Regions from separate parts of the Homo sapiens genome. Here region 2 is linked to region 1. Evidence: promoter capture Hi-C in 16 types of primary human blood cells and fetal thymus (Javierre and others, 2016). All regions are on one chromosome and are shown on one strand. Each heading gives the region's core, a stretch centred on a gene start or on the middle of the fragment in contact. The rest is flanking DNA. Distances are from core to core; before and after follow the strand shown. Region 1 holds the start of MARVELD2 (MARVEL domain containing 2). Region 2 overlaps BDP1 (BDP1 general transcription factor IIIB subunit).

Evidence for each region. Contacts are between HindIII fragments. The CHiCAGO score rates a contact against its expected background, and 5 or more counts as called.
Region 2: a contact is called between a fragment that was not itself captured here and the fragment with the promoter of MARVELD2 in region 1, in 1 of 17 cell types (M2 macrophages). The highest score is 6.4, in M2 macrophages.

What each region holds. Positions count from the first base shown.
Region 1 is chr5:69,411,087-69,417,840 of GRCh38, forward strand. It overlaps MARVELD2 (MARVEL domain containing 2), which reads left to right and starts at 4,030. Exons shown (of 7, transcript NM_001038603.3): 1 at 4,030-4,084. It overlaps RAD17 (RAD17 checkpoint clamp loader component), which reads left to right. Exons shown (of 19, transcript NM_133338.3): 19 at 2,945-3,715. The coding sequence ends at 3,206. RefSeq lists enhancers at 3,807-4,690, 4,691-5,573. The HindIII fragment of the contact is 19,290 bases long and covers 1-6,754 here.
Region 2 is chr5:71,514,603-71,521,356 of GRCh38, forward strand. It overlaps BDP1 (BDP1 general transcription factor IIIB subunit), which reads left to right. Exons shown (of 39, transcript NM_018429.3): 20 at 342-520; 21 at 1,459-1,669; 22 at 2,720-2,850. Among named protein-coding and RNA genes, the nearest start is that of BDP1, 62 kb to the left of the region's middle. The HindIII fragment of the contact is 5,933 bases long and covers 347-6,279 here.

The sequences.
Region 1 (6,754 bases), core at 2,780-5,279:
ATCGAATTAAGCACTTAGGAATTGTTTAAAGATTTTAAAAATGGCCGGGCGTGGTGGCTTATGCTTGTAATCCCAGCACTTTGGGAGCCCGAGGCAGGTGGATCACCTGAGATAAGGAGTTCAAGACCAGCCTGGACAACATGGTGAAACCGTGTCTCTACTAAAAATACAAAATTTAGCTGGGTGTGGTGGCACATGCCTGTAATCCCAGCTACTCAGGAGGCTGAGGCAGGAGAATCGCTTCAACCCAGGAGGTGGAGGTTGCAGTGAGCCAAGATCACACCATTGCACCCCAGCCTGGGCAACAAAAGCAAAACTCCATCTCAAAAAAAAGATTTAAAAAAATCTTGCTTACTGAATGCATGGACAAAAGTAAGTGATAGAAATGGCACCTCTGACTCCTCCTACCTTTTCTCCTATTTCTGGTCCCAAATGGAAAACTCCTGTGATGTGAGCTTTTTCCCCCTCTTTACCCTCCAAGATTCATTAAGGCCTTTGTAGTGTTAATGTTTTTTTCTGTATACTGGCTTAGCTATGTGGGGCCCATCTTTCCTATCGCAGAAAGACCATGATGGATGGATCTTGAAGCATCGTCCCACTGGGATGTGATCAGGGCTTACACATTTCATAAACACTGCTTTTCTTCTCACATCCCTCTGAATGAAAGCAGGACCAAGTCTCTTTGATGGCTTCTCTCCCCAACCCCCTAAGATTATGGCATCAAAATAAAGACAAGTATGTTCTATTGTATTTTTGCTCCTGAGATGTATTGAGTTGCTGCAATTTACACAAGGCTAAATTGAATGAGAATCTTCACTATTTTATTATTGGTTCAACTACCTACTTGATGTGACTTGAGAGGCAGTATTTTCTTTTCTTTTTTTTTTGTAGACGGAGTCTAGCTTTATCGCCCAGGCTGGAGTGCAGTAGCACGATCTCGGCTCACTGCAAGCTCCACCTTCTGGGCTCACACCATTCTCCTGCCTCAGCCTGCCGAGTAGCTGGGACTACAGGCGCCCGCCACCACGCCCAGCTAATTTTTTGTATTTTTAGTAGAGACAGGGTTTCACTGTGTTAGCCAGGATGGTCTTGATCTCCTGACCTCGTGATCCGCCCACTTCGGCCTCCCAAAGTGCTGGGATTACAGGCGTGAGCCACCACGCCTGGCCACGAGAGGCAGTATTTTCAGTGCTATATATTACAATGACTGGTACTATCTTTTATTTATGTTGACCATATTTAAAACCATTGTTCATATGTTTAGTATTTAGTATTAAATATTAATACTTAATATTTAATAGGTGTTTAATTTCCTGTAATTCAACCTACACGTTATTTTTGCCCATTTAGCTTTTTTTCAGCTTTTACTATCCCAGCCTTATAGATAAGTCATCATGCACTTCAAATACTATTTACTTAGGGTGAATTCCTACAAATGAAATTGCTGGATCAATAGGTATATACCTTTTGGGGCTTTTCCTCTTTATTGCCAAATTGTTGGCAAGAATATTTTGCCAGTTTTGTATCCACTTACAGTGTATCAGTATGTTCTTTTCTCCTAACCCTTGCCACCACTGGGTTTTAAAAGTATCTTTGCCAGTTTAGAAGATGACAGTAATAGGCCAGGCGCAGTGGCTCATGCTTGTAATCCCAGCACTTTGGGAGGCTGAGGTGGGTGGATCATCTAAGGTCAGGAGTTCGAGACCAGCCTGGCCAACATGGTGAAACCCTATCTCTGCTAAAAATACAAAAACTAGCTGGGTGTGGTGGTGCCCGCGTGTAATCCCTGCTACTCCAGAGGCTGAGACAGGAGAATCGCTTGAACCTGAAGTGGAGGTTGCAGTGAGCCAAGATCGTGCTACTGCCCTGTAGCCTGGGTGACAGAGCAAGACTGTCTCAAAAAAAAAAAAAGATGACAGTAGTAGCTCATTATGTTAATTTTCATTTTTAAAATTACAAATTAGATTTAACAATTTAGGAACCATTTGTATTTGTTTTATAAGTTGTCCATGTTTGTGCCCATTTTTCTATTTCATTTTTTCCTTTTTAATTTGTAAAAATTCTTTACTGAAGGCTGGGTGTGGTGGCTCACACTTGTAATCCCCGCACTTTGGGAGGCGGAGGCAGATGGATCACCTGAGTTCGGGAGTTCAAGATTACCCTGGCCAACATGGTGAAACCCCATCTCTACTAAAAATACAAATTAGTTGGGCATGATGGCATGTGCCTGTAATCCCAGCTACTTGGGAGGCTGAGGCAGGAGAATCGCTTGAACCTGGGAGGCAGAGGTTGCAGTAAACTGAGATTGCACCACTGCACTCCTGCCTGGGCGATAGAGAAAGACAGTCTCAATGAAAAAAAAGAAAAAAGAAAAATTCTTTACTGAAGACATTATTTCTTTTTATTTTTAGGTGTTTTTGTTGTTGTGGTTTGGTTTGGTTTTTTTGTTTGTTTGTTTTTTGTTTGGAGACAGAGTCTTGCTCTGTCGTACAGGCTGGAGTTCAGTGGCACGAGCTTGGCTCACTGCAGCTTCTGCCTCCTGGGTTCAAACAATTCTCCTGCCTCAGCCTCCTGAGTAGCTGGGATTACAGATGCGTGCCACCACGCCTGGCTAATTTTTCTATTTTCAATAGAGATGGGTTTTTGCCATGTTGGCCAGGCTGGTCTTGAACTCCTGGCCTCAAGTGATCTGCCTGCCTTGGCCTCCCACAGTGCAGATAGTACAGGCATGAGCCATCGTGTTCAGCTCCTTTTTGTATTTTAAGTTGTAGGAACTTATTCAGTTTGTCATTTACCTTGTAGTTTTGTTTTTATAGTTAAAGGGACTAGCTAAACAGCACAATGTAGGTAAATGAAAGATGGCTTCATAATCATCACACTCATGGTGTAATTTAAAAATCTTCTCCTTTGGTTCTTATTAATGCCTGCACTGTGAATCTGACAGATTGAAAATGGAAGCCCTGACTGACAGGGAACATGGAATGATAGACCCTGACAGCGGAGATGAAGCCCAGCTTAATGGAGGACATTCTGCAGAGGAATCTCTGGGTGAACCCACTCAAGCCACTGTGCCGGAAACCTGGTCTCTTCCTTTGAGTCAGAATAGTGCCAGTGAACTGCCTGCTAGCCAGCCCCAGCCCTTTTCAGCCCAAGGAGACATGGAAGAAAACATAATAATAGAAGACTACGAGAGTGATGGGACATAGAAGCCAGCCTGCTAATCAGATTGCTACTTCACAGCTTCATTTTTGTTTCATTCAGTGGTACTTCAGCAGAGTTAATATGCTTTTCTGATGAATTACACAACAGTTTGTTAATTCTTCATTCTTGTAGTATTTCATCACAAGAAACCTACTCTTCTGTCATCTTGAAGTAAATAGAAGATCAAGCCTTCAAATCTCTTAATTTTTTCGGTATTTATTAAATCTGTGAGTGGTTTAAGGAGCGGTCAGTGTGTATAAAGTGTGTTTGAACATTATGCCAAATATCAAGATGTGAAGGACTAATTCAGGATGCAAAAACGTTATTGGGGGGTTGTAAATATCAACTATTCAACAGTTTAGGATGCAATTACGAGTGTAAACTGTGTGCCTTATTTACACTTTATTGTCTCCCGCTTCTCAGATAGTTTTGATGTGTTGTACAGTGGAATATCTTAGATACTTTTTGGAAAGTATTTACATAAGTTATATCACAATTAAAATGTTGAATTTAATTTTGTTTCTCCTGTCTTTTAACATTATCTAGCACGCACTCGCTGCCATGGGTCCTTAAGCACAGTGCACCAATCTCCCTCCCCCAGTGTCAAACTTTTCAAAAGATAGGGAAGAGGATGGCAACGTTGCGATGAGAACTGTAAACTCTTTCCAAAAGAGCCCAGTGTGTGGTCATTGCCGCGACGTGCCGGCTGGTGGCACCGAGCAGCCTGGGCCCAGAGCGGTTGTCGGGCCGACAGATCCGGGCGGGGCAAAGCCGGGCGGGGAAAGCTGGGCTCGTCCCGTCCCGGCCCCGCCCCCACCCCGGGAGCCCGATACCGGTTTCAGAGTCCTGGGCAGCGTGCGCGCTCTTCCTGGCGGCTGCGCAGGTAAGTGGGACCGGGGTGGGGCCACGTGACCGGGAGAGGAGGGCCCGGCGGCCCCCGGCCCAGGTGTGCTGCGACGGACGGCTGCCCGCGCTCGGCGCTCAGCCTGCCATAGCCCGCGGGGGAGGCCGGAGCCAGGGATCCGGGGAGGCCCGCGTCCCGCCAGGTTTCGCTCTGCGGACGCAGGTGCGGCCGAGCCGCCGTCCTTCCGGGCGCGGGGCGGGGCGCGCACCTCGGGGCGATCTCGGTGCTCCTTACCTGGGAGGTCTCCCGGCTTAGTTTCGGCCTCGTTGGGTCGGAATCTCCAAAGACAGTGGGTTTCAGCCAGAAACGCGAAGACGAACGCCTAGCCGGCGCGGGCAGAACCGAGGACACAATGAGATTTGTGGGACCGGGCGCCCAGAGGCTGGCGCGGGGGAGACCCCACAGCTAAAATGCTCGGTACCCCCGGGCAGTCGTGGGTTAGTTAGAACCGCAGAGCCTTTCCCGACCCCTCGGAAGCGCAGAAGTATCCGAAATCTACCCGTTTCTTGGGTCCAGCAAAACTTTTAAGCCAGGTAAACCGGTGGTTCTGTTTGTGTAAAGGTGACCAGGCATGATTCCTGTGACACTTTGCTGGGGCAGCCATTTCTCCTGCCATTGCCGCGGCTTTCCAAGATGAGTGTCCAAGAGTGGAGTAAGGGTCCGGGGCCTGAGCAGGACAAAGACACACGCTGCCGCGACCTGCGGGACCAGAACGAACTCTCAGTGACATCTTGAAAGACATTAGGGGTATCCAGATATTTAAGATGTAATGAAATACAGCTAACCATTCCCTTCTAAAAATCACATTATCTTGCTTTTCCACAACTCTTTAATAATTGCTTGTTTTTTCTTTAAAAATGGATAGGGTGGTTTGATTCAAATAAGCCACTTCACAGGTGAAGAGTTAAATCCATTACAGTGAATCGTATTTTTACCAGTGAGTTGAATTAAGCATAGCGTATCCTGTAAATGCTGTGTAAAACTTGCTAAAATCATTTGTTGTGCTTTTGCTTCTACATTTCTTAGGAATGTGTTTCAAAAACTAGAGTCGTAATAGCATTTCTAGAACTTACACTTTTTTAGAGAAAGAAAGAGAAAGGTACAAAAATAACTGATTGTTATAATATACAGAGCCGCTTTGCATTGGGCACCCTGCTGGGGCCATCACAGTTAATCCTCTAAGGTCGGAGTGCCCTATTAGAAGACCCTGGGTTTCCACCGCATTCCCTTGTCTCCAGTCTGTACATACCCTGTGTGCCTTGCTTGCCCTCTTAACGTCTCTACCTGGATTTTTAACGCATCTGAAACACTCTTCAGTCTGCTGCTCCCCAAGGCTAAGCTGGAGGGGTGGAGAATGAGGTATAGATAGATAAAATGATCAGATGTCTGGGGTTTACTTCAGAGGACTCTATTGGCAGAGGAAATAGTATGGGGAGTATAAATGAAACAAGTTTGGCCATAAATCGATAAGTGTAGAAGCTGGATGTGGGTACACAAGGGTTCATAATGCTATTCTTTCTACTTTTTATTATGTTTGAAAAATTCTATAATAAAAATTTTAAATACCTGTCTAGCATTTGACCTCTTCTCAAGATCTCAGTGATCCATTGGATTATTTCAATGGCCTAGCCAGTCTTCCTGTTTTACCTCTTGCCTTCTGGAGTGTACTCTCAACACAGCATCCATAGTGATACTGTTAAAACAAGTCAAGTCATGTCACTCCTCTATTCAGAATCCTCCAGTGGCTTCTCATCTCACTCCTAGCAAAAGACAAAGTCCTTTCTTTCCAGTGGTTTTCAAGGCCCTACATGATTCAGATGGCCTCAGTTCTACTATTCACCTTCTTACCCACTTTGCTGCTGCCACAGTAGCTTCCATGCCTAAATATTTCTTGAACATACCAGGCACTCCTGCTTCAGGGCATTTGCGCTAGCTATTCCATCTGCCTGAACACTTGTCCCTGATAATGGCCTGGCTTCCTCCTTCACCTTCAGTTCTATACTCAGATATCCCTTTCTCTGTGAAGATTTCCCTGCCCACTCGGTTTAAGATGGTAACATCCTGTCCCCATTGCAGTCTTTACCCCCTTTCTCAACTTTGTTCTTTAGCATACTGTATATTTCATTTATCTATCATCTGTCAATCTGCCCGGCACTCCCCCGGTTAAAGCATCATGAAGGCAAGGATTTCAGTCTGGTTTGTCCACCAGTATACTTTCAGCATGCCTGGTGCAAGGCAGGTTAAATGAAGGGTCTTCGTTTTCCAAAGTAAAATAAAATAAAGCCTTAGGAATTTCCAAATTGTTCAACAGTATAAAGATGGGGTTATCAGACCAGGTGCAGTGGCTAACGCTTGTAATCCCAGCACTTTGGGTGGCCAAGGCAGGAGGATCGCTTGAGCCCAGGAGTTCAAGACCAGCCTAGGCAACATAGTGATACTTAATGTCTACTAAAAATTTTAAAGAATTAGCGGCCGAGCGTGGTGGCTCACACCTGTAATCCCAGCACTTTGGGAGGCCGAGGCGGGTGGATTATGAGGTCAGGAGATCAAGATCATCCCGGCTAACATGGTCCCCATCTCTACTAAAAATACAAAAAATTAGCCGGGCGTGGTGGCGAGCACCTGTAGTCCCAGCTACTTGGGAGGCTG
Region 2 (6,754 bases), core at 2,063-4,562, 2.1 Mb after region 1:
TCTTCTTTTAAATGATTAGGTACTATTGCATTGTAAAGAAATTAAAATTTATTTATTCCATCCCCTAATGATATATCTGTTTTATTTCTGATTTTTTTGTTTGTCTTTTCCGGTGAGGGAGGTGGTGCTTAAATTGTTACAATAAATATTTTTGTGTGTATATTTCTACTTGTTGAGTATTTATAAGATACATTTCTAGAAGTGGAATTGCTGGGAATTTAGAATTTTGGTATAGACTACCCTATTATTCTTCACGAAGATGATATCAGTTTATACTTGTAAAGTTCTTATTTCCTTATACTTTTAGCAACTGTGAATGAAATTTTTTTTCTGTCTTCTAGGATGAAGCTTCCCTAATGATATCAAGAGAAAAAGACACATTAGGTCACAGGAATGAGGAGGCTGTGATATTGCCATGTACACAGACTGAAAGGAACCTTTCACCTTCAAATTCTTGTGAACCTAAAGAGGAGTCTCAGTCAGCACCAGTCCAGAAAAATGACTCAGTTGTTTCTGTGGGGTAAACAGTGATTTTCTTTGACAATATAAAATAAGAGAGATACTTCTTTTAAATATTTCTAATTTTTATTGAGATATGTTAATGCATTTAAAAAGTGAACATAAAGAATATTGGTTTAATTTTATTGATACAGCAGACTGCCTAAAATATAATATCAGATTGAATTCAACACCTTCTAATGGTTGCCTGCTTATCTGCATTGTCAGCTGCGTAAGAGTGTATACAAAGCAATGCATTTAAAAACTACAAGTTGAGCATCCCTAATAAAAAATTCTGAAATGTGCCACAATTTAAAACTTTTTGAGAGCTGACATGATGCTCAAGAAATGCTCAGTGGAGCATTTTGGATTTTCAAAGTAGGGATGCTCAACTGATAAGTATAATGCAAATATTTCCAAATCTAAAAAAATCTGAAATCTGAAACATTTCTGGTCCTAAGCATTTTGGATAGGGCTACTCAGCTTATATGTATATAAGCTATATATATTCATTAACTTTTAAAAATTAGTATACACATAAGATAAAATTTACCATTTTAACTATTTTTTAATATACAGTGGCATTAAGTGTATTCACATTGTTGTCCCGTTGCCACCACCATTCATCTCTAGACTTTCTTTTTCATCTTCATAAAATGAAACTCTCTACCCATTAAATACTAACTCATTCTCCTCCTCTTCCAGCTCCTGGCAACCACCATTCTATCTGTATATTTAGCTACTTTAGGCATATTATATAAGTTTATTACCTTTTAAGAATTGACATAACTGTTTTCTTTTGTAAAATAAGATGTTTATAATCAGAAAGCAATTTCCCTTTAATGGTACAAAGTATTTTTTAGAGTGTTTATTAGAGGAGATCCAAATTTTACATTTTTACATTAGTTTTCAGCTTTTTACAGTCAAGCGCCCTGCCTTTCTCCCTGTCCCCTTGTTTAGGACTAATAATGTAAACACTTTCCAGCAAGAAATGAAGGAAAGTGTTATCCAAACTGCTCGACAAGTAAGGGGCCGACTTCAGAGACCGAGACCAAATATAAGAAAGACAGGACAGAGGCAAATAGTAGACAAAGGTGAAGCCAAAGGCATAATTAAGGAAGGAAGAACGATATTACCAAAAGATGAAACTGAAAAGAAAGTCTTAACTGTGGTGAGTTATTGTTATGTAATTAAATTTAGCCTTTTAATGCATTTAAAATGTCAAGTTATAGCTCAGACATAGCTTAGAAATACAGGCATCTGACACTTATTCTACTCAATGAATACAGTTTCCAGTTTTGTTTCAGATTTGCTCTTCTGGATTTTTTTTTTAAGTGAAAATAGATTTATTTCTTTTCTAATTAATGAAGCTATTCATCGTAAAATGTTCCATTAGGACAAAATAATATAAATACCGCAAATCTTACTCTGAGATAACCACTGAAAACCTTTTGACATATCTTACTGGATTTATTTCCATGCACACATTATGTGCACACTTATGCAAATTTAAACAATAAAGTCATTACGTACTATAACTTTCTGTTATTCACTGAATACTATGTTAAGTGGCTTTCTGGATCAAGAAATATGTTAGTTACATCATTTTTGCTGTATAACATGCTGTTTTGAGTAACAGTTTAATCTCTTATTAATGGGTCTTTTGGTATTAGGGAAAAAGTCTAAGTAGTGTAATGTCTAAAAATGTTCATTTTAGGTAGTTCTTATTTTTCTGTTAAACAATGCAAAGTCTAGATTTAAAATAATCTTTATTTGAACCAAAAAGCTCTTTCTTAAAAAAAAAAATTAAACTTTGTTTATTTTTAATTTCATAGCAGGTGACTATTATAGTTTTCAAAGTATTATGTAAACATATTACTGCAATAATCTTTGAAACTTTTCTCTGAACTAGGCATCCTTGTTTTTGGCAACAGAATGTGAACATTACATATCCAGTTTGAATCTAATTTTAAAGAATTAACCACCCATGGTGGTATCTGCCTGTAATCCCAGTTACTCAGGAGGCTGAGGAAGGAGGATCGTTTGAGCCTAGGACTTTGAGACTAGCCTGGGCAGTATGATGAGACTATCTCAAAATGCATAAATAAAAATTTAAAAAAGAAAAGGGATTTTAAAAAACTAAATATCTTAATGGTGGAAATATTTTAAGAGGTATATTCTGCTATAAAAATAACATACTAATATGATTTTGTCTTTTCAGTCAAATTCTCAAATTGAAACTGAAATTGAAGTTCCATCGTCCGCAGTTCCAGAACACAGAATGTATGAAAATCAAAGTCAGGTGGTTCTTGTAGAAAACCTTCATGTTAACAAAACAAATGAAACAATCAGGTGAGTTTGCTTTTAATGAGAAAAAATAAGACTTTTCAAAGATAAAAGTTATATTTTTGCATAGTTGACTTTATATATTAATAACTTCACATCCTGAAAATGTTAAAAGGATAAAGTAATAAATACTTGTGATACTAGAGTCTTTTAAATCTGCTTCTCGAATACTGTATGAATTGCATGGCTGATATTCTCTTAAGTATATGATATTCCCTTAAGTATATGTAATTTCTCTGAAAAGTTTGACAAGCATCCTACTTTTTGGTACCAAAACTAAATTTTTAATAGTAGACAAAGATTCTTAAGTTCTCTGTATCTTTTTTAGAAATTTAGGCCAGGCGCAGTGGTTCACGCCTGTAATCTCCCAGCACTTTGGGAAGCCAAGACGAGAGGATCGCTTGAGTCCAGGAGTTCAAGACCAGCCTGGGCAACATAGTGAGACCTCGTCTCTATAAAAATAACAAATAAAAAAAAGAAAAGAAGTTTATAACCTACTGACTAAAATTCATTAATAGGTAGTGCTATAAAGTATACTTAACAGTATACTATATTTAGAGGTAACTACATCGAAGCCAAATGGTAAGAATGATATCTTTTAATTGAGATGAGCTAGTAGGGTGAAGAAGTTTTAACATTACCACTTTTATTTATTACTTGCTATCTGCCTTCTTATTATTAAAGCAAGATGTGTTCTTTTCTTTAGTAAAAACGCCTTTCCTTTCTGTATATAGTTCTTGGTCCATCTAACTTACTGTCTTAGTAACTAGAACATGTTTTAGTGAAGTATTTATTAATTTTCCTCCAGGATGTTTTCAGCACTTATGAATATACTTTAAATATTTCAGCTTCCTTTAATTAGGTAGAGTGACTTTGGCTTTCTGGGAAATGCAGAGGAGATGTTATTGTATCCTTTTTTAACCCTCTCTAGTTAGGTGAAGCTAGAATTTGGGCATGTTAGGTCATCTGTCAAAACAGGTGCTATTGATTTATATTTTCTTTTTATTATATTTACTTTTTGAGACAAGGTGTCTCACTGTGTCGCCCAGGATGGAGTGCAGTGGCGCAGTCACAGCTCACTGCAGCCTCAACTTCCTGGGCTCAAGCAATTCTCCCACCTCAACCTCTCGAGTAGCTGGGACCACAGGTGCACACCATCATGCCTGGCTAATATTTTTGTATCTTTTTGTAGAGATGGGGTTTCACCATGTTGCCCAGGCTGGTCCTGAACTCCTGAGCTCAAGTGAACCGCCCATCTCGGCCTCCCAAAATCTTGGGATTACATGGTGAGCCACCGTGCCCGACCTCTGTTAATTTTAGATGCTTGAAGCAGTTTGCTTTCATTTAGACGAGTTTCTAATGTGAAGTTTTTATTTTAGTATGGATTACTTTTTTTTTTTTTTTTTTGGAGACAGAGTCTCAGAGTGCAGTGGCTTGATCGTGGCTCATTGCAACCTTCGCCTCCTGGATTCAAGTGATTCTTGTGCTTCAGCCTCCCGAGTAGTTGGGATTGCAGGCACCCACCACCACACCCTACTAATTTTTGTATTTTTAGTAGAGATGGGGTTTCACCATGTTGGCCAACCTGGTCTCGAACTCCTGACCTCAGGTGATCCACCCACCTCAGCCTCCCAAAGTGCTGGGATTACAGGCATGAGCCACTGCGCCCAACCTGGATTACTTTTGTTTTCAATATTACAGCCCCTCCCCCTGCTTTTTGTCTTAAAAAGCCTTAAATTTTTTTTTGATATATAATAGTTATACATATTTTTGGACTACATGTGATATTTTGATACATTATACACAATATATAATTACCAGATCAGAGTAACTGGGATATCCATCACTTCATACTTTTATCTTTATATTGGCAACATAATTTTCTAGCTATTTTGAAATAATACAATAAATGATTGTTAACTATAATTTTTCCTACTGTACTACTGAATACCAGAACTTATTCCTTCTATCTAACTGTATTTTTATACACACTAACCAGCTTCTCATTACTCCCTTCCCTCTTGCCTTCCTAGCCTCTGGTGAGCACCATTCTAATCCCTACCTCCATGAGATCCACTTTTTAAGCTGCTACATATGAGTGAGAACCAGCAATATTTGTCTTTCTGTGCCTGGCTTATTTCACCTAACATAATGACCTCTAGTTCCATCTATGTCACTGTGAATGACAGGATTTCATTCTTTTTTATGGTTAAATAATATTCCATTGTGTATATATACCACACTTTCTCACTTTCTTTATTCATTTGTTGCTGGACACTTAGGTTGATATTATGTGTTGGCTATTGTGAATACCACTGCAGTAAACATGAGAGTTCAGATATCTCTTTGATACAGTGATTTCCTTTCTTTTGGACATACACCTGGCAGTAGGATGGCTCAATCAAATGGTAGTTCTATTTTTAGTTTTTTGAGGAACTTTCATACTTTTTTCCATAATGGCATTCCTACTTTATATTCCCACGAACAGCCTATGAGTTTTCCCATTTCTCCACATCCTGACCAGTATTTGTAATTTTTTGTCTTTTTAACAGTAGCCATTTTAACGGCAGTAGGATATCTCAGTGCAGTTTTGATTTGCGTTTCCGTGATGATTAATGATGTTGAACATTTTGTCAGACACCTGTTGGCCATTTGTATGTCTTTTGAGAACTGTCTGTTCTCTTTTGCCTATTCTTTAATCAGATTATTTGTTTTTTTGCTATTGAGTTGTTTTTGTTCCTTATATATTCTGGTTATTAACTTTTGTGAGATGGATAGTTGGGAATTTTTTCTCCCATTCTGTAGGTTGTCTCTTCACTTTGTTGATTGTTCCCTGTGCTATGCATTGAAAAGTCTTTCCATATTGCTTTTATTTTAAGATTAAGGCCAATTTTTACTTCACATTAATTTTAGGTTCCCTTAGCCATTTTTTCAGTTTTTAAAACTGGATATTTTATTGAAATGTTTTTTACTAAAATGCATTAGACTTATATTACAAATGCTATATTGGATTAGGTTGATGATTGATCTCAGAGCAATTTAACTCTGATAATGTCTAGGAAACATTACAGATGAATTTGTTTACATCATTCACTTCTCCTAATTACTAATTATGGGATTATTTTCTATGTATAATCCCTTTTTGATCTCAAAGAATTATAGAATTTTACCACTGAAAATAACCTTATATACTCATTTATTCCACAAACATTTTAGTGTCTGCTGTGTGCCAGGCATTGTTCTAAGTGCTGATGATGTAGGAATAAATGAAGAAAAAAATGCTGTCACTGTGGAGTTTATATTCTAATTGAGAAACAGATTATAAATGAGAAATAAGTTGAATAAATAAGTGATAAATCAGTAGAGAAAAATAAAGTTTTGAGTAGGGAGTGTTGTGACTGGGGATTCACTTTTTAATCAGCAGTGACCAGAGAAAGCTTCATTGAAAGGGTGCATTGAAGGCCGGGCATGGTGGCTCACACCTGTAATCCCAGCGCTCTGGGAAACCAAGGCGGGCGAATCACCTGAGTTCGGGAGTTTGAGACCAGCCTGACCAACATAGAGAAACCCCATCTCTACTAAAAATACAAAATTAGCCAGCCGTGGTGGCGCATGCCTGTAATCCCAGCTACTTGAGAGACTGAGGCAGGAGAATCGCTTGAACCTGGAGGCGGAGGTTACAGTGAGCCGAGATCGCACCATTGCACTCCAGCCTGGGTGACAAGAGCGAAACTCCGTCTCAAAAAAAAAAAAAAAGATTAGTTTTTAATGCAGATCTTTCAGAGAACTCAAGATAGGTACTTATATATCCAGTTATTCTTTATAAATATTCAGGTTTATATTAGTTTTTTTTTTTTTTTTTGGAGACAGAGTTTTGCTCTTGTTGCCCAGGCTGGAGTGCAGTGGTGCA